Regions from separate parts of the Homo sapiens genome. Here region 1 is linked to region 2. Evidence: promoter capture Hi-C in 16 types of primary human blood cells and fetal thymus (Javierre and others, 2016). All regions are on one chromosome and are shown on one strand. Each heading gives the region's core, a stretch centred on a gene start or on the middle of the fragment in contact. The rest is flanking DNA. Distances are from core to core; before and after follow the strand shown. Region 1 holds the start of MTMR6 (myotubularin related protein 6). Region 2 holds the start of HSPH1 (heat shock protein family H (Hsp110) member 1).

What was found. Contacts are between HindIII fragments. The CHiCAGO score rates a contact against its expected background, and 5 or more counts as called.
Region 1: the fragment with the promoter of MTMR6 here is called in contact with the fragment with the promoter of HSPH1 in region 2 in 1 of 17 cell types (total B cells); the score reaches 5.1 in total B cells.

What each region holds. Positions count from the first base shown.
Region 1 is chr13:25,284,248-25,290,300 of GRCh38, reverse strand. MTMR6 (myotubularin related protein 6) reads left to right here and starts at 2,813. Exons shown (of 14, transcript NM_004685.5): 1 at 2,813-3,077. The coding sequence starts at 3,054. RefSeq lists enhancers at 2,500-2,669, 2,770-3,109, 2,813-3,433. The HindIII fragment of the contact is 4,901 bases long and covers 1-3,474 here.
Region 2 is chr13:31,160,241-31,165,514 of GRCh38, reverse strand. It overlaps HSPH1 (heat shock protein family H (Hsp110) member 1), which reads left to right and starts at 3,611. Exons shown (of 18, transcript NM_006644.4): 1 at 3,611-4,039. The coding sequence starts at 3,933. LOC105370148 (a long non-coding RNA gene) reads right to left here and starts at 2,855. Exons shown (of 3, transcript XR_941825.3): 1 at 1,418-2,855; 2 at 273-361. RefSeq lists enhancers at 2,985-3,254, 3,485-3,604, 3,735-3,814, 3,426-3,971, 3,972-4,517. The HindIII fragment of the contact is 12,297 bases long and covers 1-4,558 here.

The DNA of each region.
Region 1 (6,053 bases), core at 1,564-4,063, 5.9 Mb after region 2:
AAAGAAAGGAGAAAGGACAGGAGGGAAATAGGAAAGAAGAAAGATGAGGGAGAGAAGAGAGGTGAGAAGAATAAAAAAAATTTTTAAAGGGAAAAAAGAAAAAGGAAGAAGGAAAAAGAACGAAACAGTAATTATTACAGAAATAATACAAGAAAATGTCCCAGAATTGAAGGACTTATGTTTTCAGATTACAGAGCTCAAAACACTGGGCAGAAAAATAAACAAGAAAGCTAAGTTTTATTATGTTGAAATTTTAGACCATTGGAGATAAAGAGATCCAAAAAGCATCCTGAGAAAGTAGAAGCGACACCTAAAGGGAAATCGGAATGCCAGCGGATTTCTGAACAACTGCATTGAAAGTCAGGATATGTCTCTGGGAGCTTTCAAAATCCTAATTAAAATTACAGAATTCTAGACCTAGCCAAACTTCCCGTCAAGGATTTATGCTCCATTCACCCTTTCTCAGGAAGTTAATACAGAATATACTACATCAGAATAAAACAATGCAAGTAAGTAAATCAAGAAAGATAAACCACAGGATCTAAAAATTCAGCACAAGTAACCAACACATTTCTCAGGCCCATGGTGAGGAGAGTCCCAGGATAATATCCATTCAGTAGGCTCAGAGAACACAAGTGCAAACTGGAGCAAAAGGAGAAAAGGCTCCTAGAAGCATCTGGAGACCTCTAAAGAGATGTCTCGAGGAAAGATAATGGAACTGAGTGATTGCCAGATTTAACCATAAGGAATATTCTATCTAGTGCAAGAGTATTCAACTCAAGAGTCAAAGAAACGTCATTTAATATTTTATCTGTTATTTTACTTTCTTTCTGTAAAGCTAGGTAATTTTCTAGCCTATCATATTAACATAAATAGAACTTTAATATGGATTTTGAGAAGCAAATCAATGTAAAACAGTTGTTAAGAATACAGACTCTGAAGTCAGCCTGTCTGGCTTTATAACATGGATCTTGGCTTTATCTGCTATGTGATATTGGGCAAGTTACTTCACTTCATTGTGTCTCGCTTGTCTCATCTCTAAAATAAAGAAAGCAATAGCATTTTCCTCAGAATACCCGTAAAGCACTCAGTACATTTGGTCACCTGACATCATTATGATTGCCTCTCTGTGAGAATTGGTAAAGAGAGGACACAGGAAGTGAGGAGATGAGAAGAGGGAGGATAATCTGTAGGGGAATGGGGAAGGAGGAAGTTGTAAATTGGGAGGAAAATGATATAAAAAGTTTTGTTAAGAAAGTCTTGCTGTATGCTATACAATTCACCTCTTTCTGTTTTCTCAAAAAGCAATCCTCAGTAAAGACCTACATTACTTTTCTCTCTCTCTATATATATATATATGTGTATATATATATATATGTATATATATATATATATATATGTGTATATATATATATATATATATTTTTTTTTTTTTCTGAGCAGGATTTGTGGGGTTTTTTTTCGGGGGGAGGGGGTGGATGTGATACTGTACTAAGGTTGGTTTCTAGGTGGTTTAATGTAACTCTTATTACATATTTAGCTTAGAGGAGTCAGCAACTCCACCGCAAAGGCTGTTGTGTTTAATAACCATCTCCATTGCTTTGGCAATCTGTCTGAAACATCGTAGGCACTCAAAACAAAACAAACCAAGACAACTTGAACAAAATGAAACAAATAAGTGAAACAAAATTTTTAATTATAAAAGAAAATTTAGATGTTAGGCTTTTCTAACACCAATCACAGTATGAAAGATGAAGATTACAAACCTTAACCGGCTTAGTACAGAATACTTACAAAACGTAGAGCAGAGTTTCTCGGACTCTAACTCCTGACCTCAAGTGATCCGCCCGCCTCAGCCTCCCAAAGTTCTGGGATTACAGGCGTGAACCACCGCGCCTGGCATAGAGCAGGGTTTCTCAACCTCTGCACTGTTGTCATCTGCCGGATAATTCCCTGTAGTTGGGGGGTTGGTCTGGTGCCTAGTAGGGTGTTCAGCAGCCGACTTGTGACTTGGCCTCCACCCACCAGTTGCCCCCCGCCGCCACCCCCCCACCACCACCATTTGAGACAACCAAAAATATCTCCAGATGTTACCAAATGTCCCCCGGGGAGAAAACTCACTCCAGGCTGAGAAGTACCACATTAGACGTGTTCTAACAAAAATTACCTGTAACCCTCACCTAGAAATGTAAACTTTTTGTTTACATAAATAAAAATTACAGAGCACGGCTACATTGAACTTATTGTTCCATAGTCAGTTTTTTCTTCACTCAGTAATGCAGCATTAACATTTTCGTTATGTGATATCCCTCTACAGGATGAGTTTTAATGGATGCTGGTGCTAACATCGTATGAAATTGAGGTAGGAGGCGGGACTCTGACACCAGACCAGATTGAGGACTAGCTAATCATCATACTTTACATAAGGAATCCGTAGGATTGGAGAGTTGATTGTTTCAAATAAGGCTGGTTTCCTTATTTGGTTATTTCCTTAGAATAATAACTCCAAATCTGATTATTTCCTTAGAATACATTCTTATGAGTAGAACTGCAGCTCAAACTAAATTTGGTGCTGTCCAGTGGTATGGCGATGGACTTCAGAACATCCTCCACTCTTGCCCTCACCCCACAAGAACCCTTTACTCGGGATCCATTCTCACGCAGTCTTCCTCCCCGACCGCCCCGCGCGTCCGCTCGGCGGGATGACAAAGACCGCCTCGGGTGGGGTGGTGAGCAGTACCGGCCTCCTCCAGCAGGGGGCGCTGTGGGATCCGCCGCTGTCCGGGACGAACCAGCAAGCCGCTCTCGGTCCACACACGCTCTGTCTGCCTGCCCCGAGTCCCCCGGGAGGCCGCGGGGTTTGGGGAAGTGTTTCTAGGAGACGGCGCTCACCGGCTGCACCTGCGCCGTTGACGCCACCGGGGCCGGCAGACAGACCCGCGGCGCTGGCTGGTGGAGGGAGTTCCCGCTTGCTCTCTGTCGCTGTCACCGCCCTGTTTCTGTAGCCGTATGGTACGCCTGTGAGACCGGCTGCCGGCTGACGTCTCCTTGCGATGGAGCATATCCGGACGACCAAGGTAGTCGGGCGCGGGATCGCCAGTCTTCAGGGGCCCTGCTCTGACCCGGCTGAGGCAGGAGGAGACGAAGGCTCTGCTGGCCTGACTGGGGCTGGGAGCCGGCCCGGCGGAGACCCGGCCCGGGGCGGGAGGGTCTGGCCAGGCCTGGTCTGGGAGGGCAGGGTTAGCTTGGGCCAAGCGGGGTGCAGAGGCCTCCTGTACCTACAGGAGCAGGGGTCCCACTTTCAGCATCTTGGAGTGCGTAGAGATAAGTCTGGGAAAACTGGTCACCGCCCTCCTAGCTCTACGTTTTCTCGGGCAAAATTGGGGCTCCTTTAACTTTGGAGTCTTTCAGCCTTTCGTTGCCTCATCAACCGGAAAACCGTCTTCAAATTAACATTATGATGCTGTGTAAGCTTGTCCTTGCTCACATTTCATTGTCCCGTGTCACAGATTCACAGTACGAGTTTTGGAGGAACCGAGATCAGCACTCCGCTCCACCTCCCTTTGCTGTCTCGGTCTCCAGTCTTTCGCATCCGGTGTTTCCGTGTCTGTGCTTCATACTTCAGGCATTGTCCTGTGTCAGTAGTCAAGAGTTCTGGAGAAGGGAAAAATGTTATTCCATATTTTAAAAGGTCGGATGCAGCTTTATTCGATTGACCTTATTGCACTCCATGCTTAATTTTTGTGTGTGGAAGACCTTCATTTTGAGAACGAACAAATATTTTTATTTCGTTACAAATTTAAAAACGGAAGGAAATGACATCAGAATGTTACCAAATTACGTTTCCAACGACATTTAAGTTTAACTTTGAGAGGGAGAAAAACATAAATCGAGACGAGAAGAATAACATTTTAAAATCACTGCGAGCCCACTGCAAGGCAGCCTCTTGACGTTTTGGCAAAGCTGAAGCCCTTTAGTTGCTGCCCATCTTAAAATTACGGCTCATTTAGGGAACCACAGATGTTCGTTATCTTCATTGTTCCAAGAAGAATTTGTGTTTTTAAAAATTTTTTAAATGTTTCACAAACCTTTTAAAGGTATACATAAATTTTTATTGGAGCTTGTCTTTAACATTGTGCATACCGTATCTAGTAAAATTGAAGATTCTGAAAACTAACCCCTTAACATTTTTTTTTAAGAGAAGAAAGATAAAATAACTTGAGAATTCAAGTTGTGGGTACTTAAATTTTGAAAATGGAAGGGTGCTTAAGTCTATAACCAAACTCGTAGAAGGTGCACAGAGGAAAAGAGGACTAGAGTGGACATTGGATCAGGTTCTTGTATTGGTTCCAGATATGTATTATGTAGTAGCTAAGTGCACGTGACTTCCTTCTGCATCAGTTCGAAGCTCCTCTATTTTTCATATGCTTTCTACGGTGCATAGCACACAATCGAAAACCGGTAAAAGGCTGGGCACGGTGGCTCACGCCTGTAATCCCAGCACTGTGGGAGGCCGAGGTGGGCGGATCACTTGAGGTAAGGAGTTCGAGACCAGCCTGGACAACCTGGCAAAACCCCATATCTACTAAAAATACAAAAATTAGCCGGGCATGGTGGCAGGCGCCTGTAATCCCAGCTACTCAGAGGCTGAGGCAGGAGAATTGCTTCAACCGGGGAAGTGGAGATTGCAGTGAGCCAAGATGGCACCAGTGCACTCCAGCCTGGGCAATAGAGCGGGACTCAGTCTCAAAAAAAAAAAAGAAAGCCGGGTGGGGTGGTATGTACCTGTAGTCCCAGCTACTCGGGAGGCTGAGATGGGAGGATGGCTTGAGCCCACGAAGTGGAGGTTGCAGTGAGCCAAGATTGCGCCATTGCCCTCCAGCCTGGGTGACATAATTGGGGGGGGGGGGGCGGAAAAGAATAAAAAATCAGTAAAAGTAAACTGAATCTGATCAACTAGAGCAAATCCTATTCTTAGGTGGATGATAAGAGTGAACAGACTTGGAAAATATTTAGGATCCCTTGGTTATTTTAAATCTTTCCTCATTCAATTTATTATGAATATATATCTTTGTTTTTATTTGTAGAGTTGTAGCCCCTCTTATTAGCTCTTTGAAAGTTGTCACTGGTGACTTTCATTTTGTCTGATATTCCTCCTTATCTACCAACTGATGAACTTTTCTTCAAGTAATGCTCTGATTTTGACTTATCTTTACACAGTGGTCTCATGCTAGTGGTTTAATAAGGCCTTTTTAGAGACTAAGAAATTTCTGATGAATTGTCTATTAAAACTACTTTTCAAATATGCTCCTTTATTACTTTGGGTTGTTTTTCTAGTATTGGATCACTACTCTGGAGTAATATTAAGTGAGTGTATGTAGACCGCAAATAAATATTTTCTAGGTACCTAGTATGTGCCAGACACTGTATTGACACTGGGTATATAACAGCAAGATAGAGGTGGACCTCAGGGTACATTCTGTTAATTGTTGTGGGGACTGTAACATGTTCTTAAATTATTAATGTATTGGGAAATAACTTACTTTTAAAAGATTGGTTTGAACATAGCCAAACTTTTGTTTCCATTATGCATAGCCTTCACCTGGATTTAGTTAGTTTGCTGCAAAAATAAGTGTAAGTATTTAAAAAGCAAAAGTGGATTGTTTTAGATTTATTAGCTGTTTTGACCTCTATGTAGTTTAGTCATTAGGATCAAAATTGACCGTAGAGTGTCCTTTATGACTATTTAGTGATTTTTGTTGTTCAGTCAGCTCTATTTGAAAAGTAATAATTACCATTTATTGAGCAACTATATGTCAATATAGCCAATTATACAATATTATTACTTTATAATATGTACAATTGTATAAATCTGTTAATTTATACATTATCATCACTGATCTCTTAAATAACCCTGTCAGTTGGGTAGTATTATCTCCATTTATAGGTGAGGAGGAAATAGGCTTAGAGAATTTAAGTAACCTGCTCAATTAGTTCACAAGAGATAGAATTAGTATTTAAACTAAGGTGTGTTTAACTCCAAAGACTATGTA
Region 2 (5,274 bases), core at 2,362-4,861:
GATGAGGAACTGGCCTAGCCAGGAGCCTGAGGAAGAATTTTCTAGGCAGGGGAATAAAGGAACACCTTGATGTGGGGTAGGGGGCCAGTGTGCCTGAGCACGGTGTTCCAGTGGCAAAGTGGCTCACAGTGAGTTTGGGGGCAGACATGAACATTTTCCTACACATTGAGTTTTTGTCTGCCACATTTATTACAAAATATGATCCTTTTTAGGCTAAAAGAAACATCATTTTACATATCTTTTCCATGTCCTACCAGACAAAACATACTTACCTTATTTCTAGGTGTACCTTTTTATAAGTCTCTGCTCCCTGCGTGATTTCCCCATGCATTCCTATTTTTAGATGATCATTCTATTATAACTTAAAATAAGGACAAAATAGGTTTTAGCAGAACCAATTAAGGTTTAAAAGATACATTTTCAGGTTAATATATAAGAAGAAAACAAAAATCTTTTGGTAAGCAAATATTGAAAAAGGTTCAAACGGACAAGATTTCAGATAATTGAGTATTCATGATGCCCCAGCATTGCAGAGAAGTGACAAAACACATCTTGATTTAGAACAAGTTTTATACTACTTCTGTAACCCTCCAGACCCTGGCATTATGCTGGTTATAGAGAAGACTGCCATACTGGTTGATACCAGAAATTCAAAGTCATATGCACTTTCATGTATATTACTCTATCTGCATATCCCCTCCTTTGCCCATCTCTTCCTCCTTTCAAGGAAGCCTGGCATAGTTTTTTATATCTACTGCATATTATCTCTTTGAATGGCATTTTTGTTTGGGCTTTTCTTAATTTTGCATTTTTGTTTTATTGTTCTTTGGAAGTGGTCTGTTTCTGCTTCCAATTTTGAGGTCCTTCTTATTCTCTAAAACAAATATGGAATGAAACCTAATAATTGGATTCATAATTACATAACAAGGATTTGTAGGGATTGTCATTATTTGGTCCAAGTCTCATTTTAAAATTTCTGACATTACAACAGTAAGTGTGATAAATTCTACATGTAATAAAATATATAAACATATAAAGTAATAAAATATAATAAAGTGTTAAAAGTGAATTTTTTTAATAGTCTTGCTATATTGCCTGGGCAGGACTTCAACTCCTGGGCTGAAGCAACCCACATGCCTCAGCCTCCCATGTAGCTGGTACTAGAGGCATGAGCCACTGCACCTAGCTAGGAATTATTTTTTTATTTTTAGAGACAGACTCTTGTTCTGTTGCCCAGGCTGCAGTGCAGTGGAGTGATCATAGTTCACTGCAGCCTCAAACTCCTGGGCTCAGGTGATCCTCCTGCCTTGGCCTCCCAAAGTGCTGGGATTACAGATGTGAGCCGCCATGCCTGGCCCAGCTAAGAATTTCAATTAGATAATAAATATGGTAGATTTTACAACCTCTTATCACTTACCTGTTGTGCTGAATAATTAAGGCAAATCGATTAAATAAAAGGGGGCTACACCATGACTACACAACACATCCACAGCAGTACAAGATTAAAGTTTGTACTGACTTTCACTGAATGATATTACTTCTATTACTACAATTTATCAAATACCACCATACCATGTTTTATTTATATCTAATCCTTCCAAAATCCTAGCAAAAATAGGTATTACTTCCATTTTACAGTCGAGGAAACAGAGGGCAAAGAGGAATTTGACAAAGATGACAGACTTTATATGTTTATGTTTATATATGTTTAGTGCTTTACATATAGTTTCCATCATTACATAAACACCATGAGATGGAATACAGAAAGGCTTAGTAATTATCGCAACATCACACAGCTCACAAATAAGAATAGCTAGGATTCAAGCCCATGATGTCTGACTCCAGGAGGCCTGGTGCCCTTACAAGCTGTACTTTATATAAAACATCTTAGTAGAGTGCCAAGGATTTGAACCTGACCCAAATCTGTCTGGCTCCAAAGACTGAGAACTGTTCATGTCTCCTCTTCGTACGGCAGTTAAAATGTGGGAAGCAGACCAAATAATCTCAAAGGTTCTTTCTGTTCAAAATTGCTATGTCTCCATGGATTTTATTATAAGGTTTTGATATGTAAGAAAAAGTTGGTGGGCGGGGGGTGGGGACAGAAACCAAGTTTTTGGGATGCATAACAAAAATAACTTATAGTTACAGCTAACTATATGTCCAAATGTAAGAACACAACAACCCCGTGATAACTATTATTGCTCCCATTTTAAAGGTGAGTTAACTGAAGCATGTTAAGTAAGCCACCTAAGTGGCAGGAAAACTAGCAAAAGCACATACAATTTACATGTAATGTAAACCTGGGCCTTTCGTCTTGCCTCTGACTTAACCAACTTGTTTTGATAGACAAGGAGGAATTCCCATACTCTTTATGAGTTAGATTTTTCTAACTTTAGGTTACAACTCCTTATTCAATTACACGCTTATCCAATAACATATTTGAACTGTGCTTATACTTCCACATGCCTGACATAAGGTAAACTCAGGGATCAGAAGCAAACTTAAAAAGACACAAAAGGGTATAAAAGACCTGATAAGTTATCAGCAACACAGTTCCACCTTTTCTTACACTGTCTCTTTACTGAACAAAAGTTAACGGGGACATCGCTTCTGAGGGAAAGAAACAAAAGCTGCTTCAGATCAAACAAAAAGCAAAACTTACACACAGTACCAATTTATGGCTAGGAGTGGCAGGGTAGAACAGCGTCGGCTTAAATCAGACCTTTTAAAAATAAGCAGAAAGTGATACCGTGGACAGCCTGCCAAATGACGTCACAACTAAAAATCGATTTCTTAAAAAAAAAAACACCTGACATTTTACTCCACAAGAGATCATCCTGCTGCCTGATGAATACAAGAACACTTAACACAACCCCTTTGCTTTTATTATAAGCGGTTTGAACTGGTGTTCCTTCTCCTAAGTCGTAACGCACCAGTTGTCGGGGTAATCCAGACAATAATAGAAGTGAATACAAAACAAACGAACAAAATGACGCTTATTGCCAGGGAACCCGCGCAAAAGCGCCAGACAAAACCCTACCCAGCCTCTCTCGCGAGTCCCAGAAGACAAAGCCGGGTCCCAGCAAGCACTGCGGCCAGGACTACACATCCCAGCATGCAAGGCGCACACTTCTCCCAGCGGGACTACGATTCCCAACATGCTCTCCGGACAGCTGGCCGGCCTCCCCACCATCCCGGTGTCTGGGGTCTCTGCAAAAATGGGGTCTGTCTCCGCCCGCCCAGCCTCCCTTTAGCGTTAAGGATCGGACACCACCTCCCGGTAGTAAATTGTGACTATTCCGAGTTTTGGAGTCATTCTTCGTTGCCTGTTTTATTAGGGCAGCAAAACGCCTGTGGCTAGGGCGGGAGTGGGCGGAGGCAGGTTTGAGCCAATGGCACGGGAGCGGCCCTGTCGCTGCCATGGCAACGGCGGCCGTTCTCCGGGGACCGGCTGCCCATTGGGTAGAATCTTTCCAGAAGGCTCGAGAAGAAGGAAGCGGAAGTGGCACGTGGAGGGGCCGGTGGAGGCGCCGGTGAGTAAATGCCGCAGATTCTGGAAAGTTCTGATCAGTGCGATACATAAGGCTGAGGAAGTGGGACCTCCCCTTTTGGGTCGGTAGTTCAGCGCCGGCGCCGGTGTGCGAGCCGCGGCAGAGTGAGGCAGGCAACCCGAGGTGCGGAGCGACCTGCGGAGGCTGAGCCCCGCTTTCTCCCAGGGTTTCTTATCAGCCAGCCGCCGCTGTCCCCGGGGGAGTAGGAGGCTCCTGACAGGCCGCGGCTGTCTGTGTGTCCTTCTGAGTGTCAGAGGAACGGCCAGACCCCGCGGGCCGGAGCAGAACGCGGCCAGGGCAGAAAGCGGCGGCAGGAGAAGCAGGCAGGGGGCCGGAGGACGCAGACCGAGACCCGAGGCGGAGGCGGACCGCGAGCCGGCCATGTCGGTGGTGGGGTTGGACGTGGGCTCGCAGAGCTGCTACATCGCGGTAGCCCGGGCCGGGGGCATCGAGACCATCGCCAATGAGTTCAGCGACCGGTGCACCCCGTAAGTGGGAGTCTGCGAGGGTGGATGGGAGGAGGTTCTGGGCCCTTAGTGTGGGGACCCAAGATCGCGGGCTGGCTGTACGGATCACCGCGGCAAACGGAGGCGTTTGGGCAGCGGCGCACCCCTCCGTGGAACTAGGGACCAGCGACCCGGCCAGAGGAGGGATGGGGGGCTTGCCATCACAAATTGGAGAAGGGATTGTCTCAGGGATTCACGGGGGTGAGAGGAGTCCCAGAGTCGAGACTCTAAGGGTCGTCACCTTGTGCGGGCTTCCTATTGGGGGTTTTCAAAACCTACTGGGGGTCGGGCTGCGGCAAAGCCCGCAACTTCGCTCCCTTTTCTTGGCAGGCTGCAGCCTGCGCCTTCCGCGGCCGCCCCCGTATCCCCACCCGGCCTCTCTGAGCTGGCTGAGCCGCCTCCAGCTTGTCCTCCTCCCTTCGCGCATATCTTTGCGCACCGCGGAGCGGGGCTGCCGGCCTTTTTCTTCCGCATTGTGAATCTCGAAATGAACTGGAAGCTTCCAGAGCTTGTGTCGCTGCTTGTCCAGTGAGCAGGCGGATTGTTGTTAGCGACCACGGAAGCAGTCCTATGAAAGATTAGCCCACCTCTTTTTACCCAGTCTCTTCGTTGCTAACATTGTTGGCCTTAATGCCCGGGATCATTGTCGAAAGATGTAAACGTCTTTTTTTTTGCTCTTTGCCATTCATGAGGAATTGTAAACCGTATTTTTAAAATTAATTTTGCACAGTTTATTTAAAAGAGAATAAAAATTGCATACTTTTGTGCTAGGACGCCAAAAGAGGATGGATGTCGTCACTGAACTAAATATTCTATAGGAGCATAGGGTGGGCAAAGGGCAACATTTTAAAAAGCAAGTTTCGTGAAGGGATATTTTCGGACGAGAATATATACAAACATATCTGCATGTGCATTGATGAAAACAAATGATTTCATCTCAAGGAAAATACTGTACCTATTAATTTTTTTCAAATGTCCCAAGCTCAGGATGAAAAGTGCAAAATGAAAACATTGAACCTAAAGGTAGAATGAATGACTGGGGTAATACAATTATTTGGGTGCTGAGAACGTTTATGAAAGTTGAGTGGAAAATCTGAGGCAAAATATTTGGCAATGTTAGTAACGTTAGGAAGACTGTTCTGAGCAACCTGTACGTCTACCCCTGCAGATCTAAGTTTGTGTTTTGGTTAAGGTTTTTTTAATTGGAGTTTAGTAAG